Regions from separate parts of the Homo sapiens genome. Here region 1 is linked to region 2. Evidence: promoter capture Hi-C in 16 types of primary human blood cells and fetal thymus (Javierre and others, 2016). All regions are on one chromosome and are shown on one strand. The core of a region is centred on a gene start or on the middle of the fragment in contact, and the rest is flanking DNA. Distances in the headings are between cores, read along the strand shown. Region 1 has its middle 55 kb from the start of ATP12A. Region 2 holds the start of ATP12A (ATPase H+/K+ transporting non-gastric alpha2 subunit).

The links. The method cuts DNA at HindIII sites, captures the fragments that hold promoters and counts their contacts. A CHiCAGO score of 5 or more calls a contact.
Region 1: a contact is called between a fragment that was not itself captured here and the fragment with the promoter of ATP12A in region 2, in 1 of 17 cell types (total CD8 T cells). The highest score is 5.3, in total CD8 T cells.

Annotation. Positions count from the first base shown.
Region 1 is chr13:24,623,487-24,628,156 of GRCh38, reverse strand. No RefSeq gene overlaps it. Among named protein-coding and RNA genes, the nearest start is that of ATP12A, 55 kb to the left of the region's middle. RefSeq lists an enhancer at 1-535. The HindIII fragment of the contact is 204 bases long and covers 2,816-3,019 here.
Region 2 is chr13:24,677,855-24,682,319 of GRCh38, reverse strand. It overlaps ATP12A (ATPase H+/K+ transporting non-gastric alpha2 subunit), which reads right to left and starts at 1,912. Exons shown (of 23, transcript NM_001676.7): 1 at 1,568-1,912; 2 at 600-758. The coding sequence starts at 1,576. RefSeq lists an enhancer at 1-361 and a silencer at 1,555-1,864. The HindIII fragment of the contact is 1,067 bases long and covers 1,196-2,262 here.

The sequences.
Region 1 (4,670 bases), core at 1,668-4,167, 55 kb after region 2:
AGGAGAGAGCCACGGGGCAGTCATGGTGCCTGCTGTTGCTGGTGCAGACTCACTCACATGGTTCTGGCTAGCTCAATGTGTGAGGAAATGGGGAAGCAGAGCCTCCGGGCAGATGCTTTCCTGCAATAGCCCTGCATTCTACGGGCGAGCAGGCTCTTCGGTGGCTATGTCTAGCTGTCTCTGCCACACACCTACTATGCGCATGGCATCAGCTCCCAGAGAGCTAACAGTGTAGCCAGTGAGGACGTGCGCTTTGCTAAAAGGAAATCTGTTTTGCTTCTCTCCCCTAAACCAGTCTGGCAGCCTAAAGGCTATTGGTTCAGGCTTCGGCCTGTTTTCCTCAAACGCTGTTTTCATCAGTCCCTGCCTTGCTGGGAACTCCTGGGGACTCCTTGCTACACCACGGACACCCTCTTTTGCCTTTTGCTTAATACCAAGGGTAATGTGGCCCCTACTCCTGGGCCGAGCTTATCTCTCATGTCCCTTTGCTCCCCCACAGGGAATCGATCCTGCCCTAGTGGGGTGTCTGCACCACCATGATCTACCCAACCTCTGGACCTCACATTTTTGAAGCCGGTCCAGCTCCACCTGCAAGGGTGAGGCCTCCCGGGCTTGGGCCAACTAGAACTTCTTTTGGCTGGCGCCGTCCTGCTCCCCAGTTGTTGGATGCCTGATTCGGTGTCTTTCCTTGAACTACCCGCTCTTTAGAGAACCAGGCTGACACAGAGTGCTCCTGCTTATTCCCTGCTCCGCGCCCTGCTCCCGCGGCTGGCCTGTAACCGACAACTTTGCCTCTGAAACCTTTGCCGGCCTCCTCCCCTCTTCCAGGAGCCCAGCGCCCTGTGCGGTGTCCCTTGCCACGGCGCCGTCTGGCGGTGGAGCCGGGCACCTGCAGGCTGGAGCCCACGTTGCCTGAGAACAGTCCCAGGGGAAGGGGAGGAGGGTCAGGGCTCCCCTTTTCTGATGGGATGCTGGCTCCATTGCAGCCACAGCTGGGGGTTCATCCCTCCTTTGTACGCACCCCTTTTCCCCGGAGTGCCTAGCGATGGATACAGACTTGCAGGTTACTTATTTAAAATCAAAACCAGCTGCGGCCAAAGTGTAGTGAGTACTCATCACTGGCTGGGCGTTTTATGGCCTGTGAGTTTCCATTATCCCAGTTAAATCTTCAACAGCCCGGTGCCCTAGGAATTATCATCCCCACTTTGCTAAGGAGAACCTGGGCTCCTCAGATGTTAGGAGGTGAAAATGACAGGCCAGTAGGTGTCAGAAGCAGGGCTCTGGACTCCAGCCTTCCGACTTCAAACCCTATGCTTTTAAAAATCATTCCATTTGCTTCACTAATTTTCTGTGAAAAATCACTGGTTTCCATAGTGGAAACTCACAAGTGGCAGCTAAGTGATTGGAGAACAATCATTAGTAGACCCAGGTTTAAATTCAGAATCTGTAATGGACTTCCTGGAAGACATTAACCTGCTAGGGTGTCAGTTTCCTGTCCCCACCCCGCACTGGGCAAACCAGATCAAATGTGCAAGGGCGCTGTGGAAGAAAGGTTTCTCTCCTCTGTAGTAATATCTTTTGCTAGAAAGGTTTTTTTAAATAAATGTATTCTAAGGGCAAGGAGAAACCAAATTTGAAATCCATTTGTCTGCAGTGCACTTGACCCAAGTTTTTTCTGGAATTTTGCTGTCTTTTCTGATGTCATAAACTCTAAACTAGCTGGGAAATTCAGATGACAAACACAGACTCTGCCTGGGCTCCAGGAGTGTGTCATGGGCAGCAGCAGTAGCAGCCGGACGTGCCATAGACCATGTCATCCTTGTGGCTTCACTCCTCTCCCTGATGTTGCAATGGACGCCCAAAAAGCCACCTGGTCCTGTCTTTTTCTGACTCCTGGGAGGGCCCACAAAGTAGAGACTACCAGTATTTGCATAGTTCTCTGCAGTGTACACAGCCCTTCTTAATCACAGCTACACGTTCAGCCTCTGCAATAACCCGGTGAGGTGGGTGTTGTCACACCCATTTTACATTTGAGGAGTTGGAAGTTCAGATGTTCAGTAACTTGACAAAGGTTTCATTCTAGTAAGTGGCAACACTCATTCTCAAACCCAGCTCTTTGGATACAGGCCTTGTCTTTCTTGCTACACCAACACGTACCCCACAAAATCTGCTCAGTGCTTGCACTGGCACTGTGGGGGCACCTGCCTCTGAAGGTGCAGAGAAGTCACCCTCCTTCCTCCATGAGGCCTCTCTCTCTTCCTCGCTCCCTCTCTCTTTCTCTATCTCTTGCTCTCCCTCTTTTCACATGTTTATTGAGTGCTTATTACATTTGTCAAAAGACAAAAATTACAACAAATGCAGTTTAAAGATCCTAATTGGCCTTTATTTGTGATTCTAGAATTGAGCAACACTCCATTCCATAAAATAGGAGTGTTTTGATAAGGCCAGCAGAGGGGGTTGACTTTTTAAACAGAAAAAGGCTGAGGAAAACAGAAACAGGAAGCAGAAGGCGGGTTGGTTATTAGAAAGTAGTTTTTCTCGTAAAGGTTAAAGAAGAGGGGACTTCTTCCTGCTTGTTAAAACCGACCTGTTTGGGGATTTGGCTATTATCTCTCTCTCCTGATCTCTTGGAAGGTCAAATAAACAACTTAGTTTCAGTTTGGTGTCATGAAAGTTTGGCAGGAGTAACTCCATTTTGGTTTGCTCTGTTGGGTCTATTGCAGGAGCTCAGCCCAAACCAATGGCTTCCTATAAGTTCATTTAACAAATCTCAGACTTTGTCCTAGGTGCTGGAGATATAACAGTGAACAAAGCTTACATAAATCTTGGAACTTATTTTCTAGAGGAAGAAGATAGAAAATAAATTATTTGGCTGTTGGTGGTAAGTGCTAGGAAATTAAATATGCTGTCATCTTCTCTCACACAAGCTGGTTCATTTAAGAAGGAAAGAACCAAGTGAGATGTGGAAAGCCTGTGCAATCTTTGTTTATGTGAAGCCAGAGGGATCTTTTCAGAAGCTTGGATCTGATCCTGTCTGTTCTCCCCACCAAACACAAGCTCTCTTCCCCGCTTCCTGTGGCTCTGGAGAGCCTCCCCACCCCCGTCACCCCTCCTGGGCTGAACAGCTTCCAGGCTCCTCAGCCTCTCCAGCCTTCCTCACTCTCAGGCCCCCTGAGGTCCCGCTCACTGACCTGACCTGGTCCAACCTGGACCCCACTCCTTCCCCAAGGACTTACTTGCCACTCCCTGGCTGGGCCAGGCCTGGTGCTCTGCCCCCAACGCAGGGCTTCCCTCCACCCGTTCAGCTGCTCAGCTGTGGGAGCTCGGCTCAACGCCCTTCCTTGGGAGATGGCAGCCAGCCCTCCCCACTGCCCCACTGCCCCGATTTCAGACCCCATGTTCCTTTTTCTTTCACAGCCCTGATCACAGTGGCAAATTCACCCTCCTTGGTGTGGTTGGTTAATGATTCTCTCTCTGGATGCTGGCCCCCAGGGTGGGACCTGATGGGATCTATTCATCCAGCCCCAGTCCAGGGCCTGAACCCTGGTGGAATCCCCCCAGAGGCCACTGTGTGTCCGGAATTGGTGGGTTCTTGGTCTCACTGACTTCAAGAATGAAGCCGCCGACCCTCGCGGTGAGTGTTATAGTTCTTAAAGACGGTGTGACCAGAGTTTGTTCCTTCTGATGTTCGGACGTGTTCAGAGTTCCTTCCATTCTGGTGGGTTCGTGGTCTCGCTAGCTCAGGAGTGAAGACACAGACTTTCACGGTAAGTGTTATAGCTCTTAAGGCAGCGCATCTGGAGTTGTTCATTCCTCCCGGTGGGTTCATGGTCTTGCTGGCCTCAGGAGTGAAGCTGCAGACCTTCGCAGTGAGTGTTTACAGCTCATAAAGGCAGTGCAGATGCAAAGAGTGAGCAGCAGCAACATTTATTGCAAAGAGCAAAATAACAAACCTTCCACACTGTGGAAGAGGACCCGAGTGGGTTGCCACTGCTGGCTCAGGCAGCCTGCTTTTATTCCCTTATCTGACCCCACCTACATCCTGCTGATTGGTCCATTTTACAGAGAGCTGATTGGTCCATTTTGACAGGGTGCTGATTGGTGCATTTACAAACCTTGAGCTAGACACAGAATGCTGATTGGTGCATTTACAATCCTCTAGCCAGACATAAAAGTTCTCCAAGTCCCCACCAGATTAGCTAGACACAGAGCACTGATTTGTACGTTTACAAACCTTTAGCTAGACACAGAGTGCTGACTGGTGTATTTACAATCCTTTAGCTAGACATAAAAGTTTTCCAAGTCCCCACCAGATTAGCTAGATACAGATGCTGATTGGTGCATCCACGAACCTGGAGCTAGACACAGAGTGCTGATTGGTGCATATACAATCCTCCAGCTAGACATAAAAGTTCTGCAAGTCCCTACCTGACTCAGGAGCCCAGCTGGCTTCGCCTAATGGATCCTGTGCTGGGGCCATCCCATGCTGCGCAGGAGCCCACCACAGGGGAGGGGGTGTGGGGGCCTCAGGCATGGTGGGCTGCAGGTCCTGAGCCCTGCCCCACGGGGAGGCAGCTGAAGCCCAGCAAGAATTTGAGCATGACATGGGCGGGCCAGCAGTGCTGGGGGACCAGGTGCCCCCTCCACAGCTGCTGGCCCGGGTGCTAAGC
Region 2 (4,465 bases), core at 663-3,162:
CCACACATACCATGCACATACACACACCACACATACACACCACACACTACACACACACCACACGCTACACACACACCACACATACCATGCACATACACACACCACACACACCACACACATATATACCACACACATACACACACCACACACATACACACACCACACACACACCACACACATATACACACCACACACACACACCACACACACATCACACACACATCACACACACCACACATACACACACCATACACACACACCATACACACACACCACACACATACACACACCACACACTACACACACCATATACACACACCACACACCATACACACACACCACACACCATACACCACACACCACACATACACACACACACCACACACTACACAGACACACCACACATACACACACACCACACATACACCACACACACACACCACACAGACACACCACGCAGACACCACACACCACACACAATCTCAAGGGGATTTCAAATCCCTCAGACTGAATGTCTGTGGTAAGAGGTGGGTTCTAGGGGCAAGCTCTTGCGGGGAAGGGCCATAGCCGGCAGGACCCCGTGGCTTAAGGCTACTGACCAGATGGAGTTCTTTCTGAAACTCCTCTTTGTGATTTTTCTTTTTGAGTTCCAGGCAGTTGTTCTTCAGACCCCTATACTTCTCCTTGCCATCCCCCTTGTCTGTTTTCACGATGTCCTTAGTTCCGCTGAGCTCCACGGAGTAAATTTCTGGGGTTTTCTGAAAGAGAAGCCCAGGTGCAATATTGGCCCCAAATGGGGTTTCCGAAGAGGTGCTGAGCGCCCCTCTGCGGGGTCAGGACCTGCAGGAGTCAGGAGCCCCTTCTCCCTTTCCTTCCCTCCTCTGGGGAGGCCGGAGGGAGTCGGACAGTGGAGTCTCTCCCCCACCTCCCGCCGACCTTGGCTTCCTCTCCGTCCGTGTAGAGGGGAGGCGGGGTGGGCACAGGCCAGCCAGCAGCTCCTCAGGGTGACCCTTCTCTGGGTGGAGCAGGTGGGAAGTTACCCCCCCAACTCCTGACTGATGCCTCCAAGGAGCTGTGAGGTTTCCTTAGAACCTCGAGGTTCCTTAGGCACCTCGAGGTTTCCTCTGAGGTGTCCTTCCCAGGGGACACAACAGCTGTGCGTCCTGTTTCTTGGGGAGGAGGCACCCACTAAGCTTACGACCCTCAGTCCTGATCAGGGGGCCCTAACCGGAAGTCTTTTCAGACCGCAACGAATCCATGTCACCCCATCCTCCGAGTCGGAGCCCGCAGGTGCCATGGAGCTGGCCTAGGACCCCTTGGCCCCTTCTCGCTCCTCTGGACTGGCTTCTTTCCCCAGCCAGCCCCGGCGGCCGCACGGAGCCGTGGCGGGGAGTCAGAGAAGCGGTGCCCAGGCCGGGGGGCGCTCAGAGGAAAGGCGGCCTCCCCTTGCCCCGGGACGGGGCGTTTCTCCTCTTCGCCTTTTCCTCGCTTCCCGTCAGCCTGCTCCGGTCCCCGGGGCCTTGGCCCAGCGTCTCGCATCCTCGGCCGGCGCGGGGGCTGCACGCACCTGGTGCATGCTGGGCTGGTGGCGCCGCGGGCTGCGGGCGTGGAGCGCGGATCCGGGACCGCAGCGGCGGAGCGCACGGTGGGGGGCCTCGTGTGGCTGTGGCAGTGGCAGTGGCTGAGGTGTTGGCGGTGGAGATACCGGCGGCGGCGCGGGCCCTGCACGCACCTCCGCGGCCGATCGCCAGCCGCTGCACCGGGGAGGTGGCACCAGCCTTAAATGCCGCCCGCCCCGCCCACGTCCCCGCCAGGGCGCAGGCCAGCGGACGCCTCGGAGGGTAGGAAACCCGCCGGCGCGCGCGCAGGGAGGGGGACCGACAGCTAGGGGTCGGGAGAGTCCAGGATTGAGGACCCCCTGGGAATCCCCTTCCCTTTAGTAGCCGAACGCCAGGGGGCGGGGTCTCTAGGGGGCGGGTCCGGCATCCAGGTGAGTACAGCCCTGGTTCCGCTGGGCGCCCAGAGCCGGACCAGCTGCTCCGGCGAGCTCCCGGCACGCCCACGTCCTGTCCAGGCTTCCCTGAAAACCCACACATGCCTTTTTTTAAAAATGTAATTTGCCTACCAATAAATCAATTTATAAAAATGTGTATGCAGAGAAGGGGAAATTGCAGTTTCTAACAGCAACTACTGTTGGAGATGTCCCGGCTAGAAAAGGCCAATGTGTTTTTGAGAATGGATTTAGATAGGTAAATTCAAGCTTCCGAGAGAATTTGGGAATAACTGAGAGACTCTGAAGAGTAGCTGAATTAATTTGCCGGATCCAGATAAGAATTTGGAATTCTGAAACAATTTGGAGAGGGAATGGGGAGGAGAGATGAGAGGATTAGGGTCGGTGAGACCACAGGAACCTGGGGCCCCAGGCTGCGGGTGCGCAGGAGCGGAGGCTGTTGGCTGGACTGGGCTGGAGAGGTCTGTCTCCACCTATTTATGTCACTCCCAGCTGAGACTCTATACATGAAGGAGAAAAGAATTTCTGACCCTGAAAGTTGATGTGCATACTAAAGCAGTGGTTGTTTTATACTGCTAAGTTTGGGTTGGTTTGTTATGCAGCAATAGATAACTGGGACATGCTCCATGCTCTTAGTGCCCAGCATGAGTTTTTGCACAGGATAGAAAAGGTATTTTCCCCCTGACACTTGAAACATAATTACTCCAGATGAGAAAGATAGCCTGAAAACAATATATCAGAGAGATATTTAGCAGTTAACAGTGGAGGAAATCAAACACGTTCTTTTAAAAGAATGAATCGTGAAGTCTTAAAGTCAGTGAAGAATATTAATTAATGGAGAGGAACATAAAAAATAAAACCCACGAATAGAGTTTAGTAATCAGCACCTATTTAGAAGAACAATAAGAAATTGACATGATTGAAATATATGAAAGGGAGTAGAGATAAGTTTCAAAAGAGGGGGCACTTTATTGGGCCCTTGATGCTCTGCTAATAAGTTTCCATTTAGATAAGGACTAATAGGAGGGTGCTAAGTTTTATTCTTTTTGAAAGTTATATATCAAATATGGTAAGAAAGATTGTCATTTTGACCATATTTAAAATGACTAAGAGTGAGGAGTCCAGAGAAGCAGCAAAAGTAACAATCCCATCATGCAGTGACTAGAACATCTGGCAGAAAACATGAAGAGCATTGGGTACATTTAGAAAAGGTAGAAGAAAAACAATAAGCTTGTGCCCGGCCGGGCGCGGTGGCTCACGCCTGTAATCCCAACGCTTTGGGAGGCCGAGGCGGGCGGATCACGAAGTCAGGAGATCGAGACCATCCTGGCTAACACGGTGAAACCCCATCTCTACTAAAAATACAAAACAATTAGCCGGGCATGGTGGTGGGCGCCTGTAGTCCCAGCTGCTCGGGAGGCTGAGGCAGGAGAATGGCATGAACCCGGGAGACGGTGGAGCTTTCAGTGAGTGGAGATCGCGCCACTGCACTCCAGCCTGGGCGACAGAGCGAGACTCTGTCACAATAAAAAAATTAAAAAAAAAATAAGAAAAAAAAGCTTGTGCCCAATTCTAATTAGGAATTAATTATAACTTCCTGTTCCTTTCAGATGCTAAATTTCCATAATAATTTCAGAGCATGACTATAGTTGGTGGTGAGGGACAATTGGGAAAAGAAGCTTATTTTGAGGGAATTTGAAGTGTTAGCAGTTAGAGACGTGGTTTTGTAAAGTAGCAGTAGAGACAAAGATACTTTCTCATGGCATATTTGTGATCTTAGATTTTCCACACCTCTCTGTTCATCATGGCTTTCAAATGAGACTAAGGGAATGTGTTGTACCCGACATAGTGAACTGTCTCCATAGTGCTGCACACATAGGTCTTTCCCCGCTCTCCCTCCTTCTTCCGTTCCAAAAGGGCAGAATCTGAAGCCTGGGTTCCTCCCTCTGTGAAGCAAGGATGACAGCAATGAGTCACTTCTTAACTAAAATGATAAGGGACAGGAAGACTCCTAGTGGCATCTGGTGTAAAGATACACATCATGGATTCTCTAGAGTTGGAGGGAACATTAAATTCTAGTCCAAACCCAAGCAACAGTGTGCTTCTGGGGAGCTCTGGGTTCCATTCTTGGAATACTCTTCAAAGGAAAGGTTTGCAGATGGGGTGAGAAATACAAAATGTGTACGAAACTGATGTTCCACTGTCTGCTGATAATCCAAGCTAAGGGTTTTTTGGGAACAGGTGGCTGCTGCTCACCTTAAGCTGTTCCAGCCCCTGCTCCAACTATTGGGACAGATGTAGAATAGAGAAGCAGGGTCCGCAGAGAGATGTCTCTGAGCTCAAGGCCAGTTCAAGCTCCAAAAGCAAACTCAGATCCTAGGGACTTGACTGAGGGATGGGGAGCGGGGAGGGGAAGTGGGCTAAAAAGAGATGGTGACACAGCTTTAGAAAGTA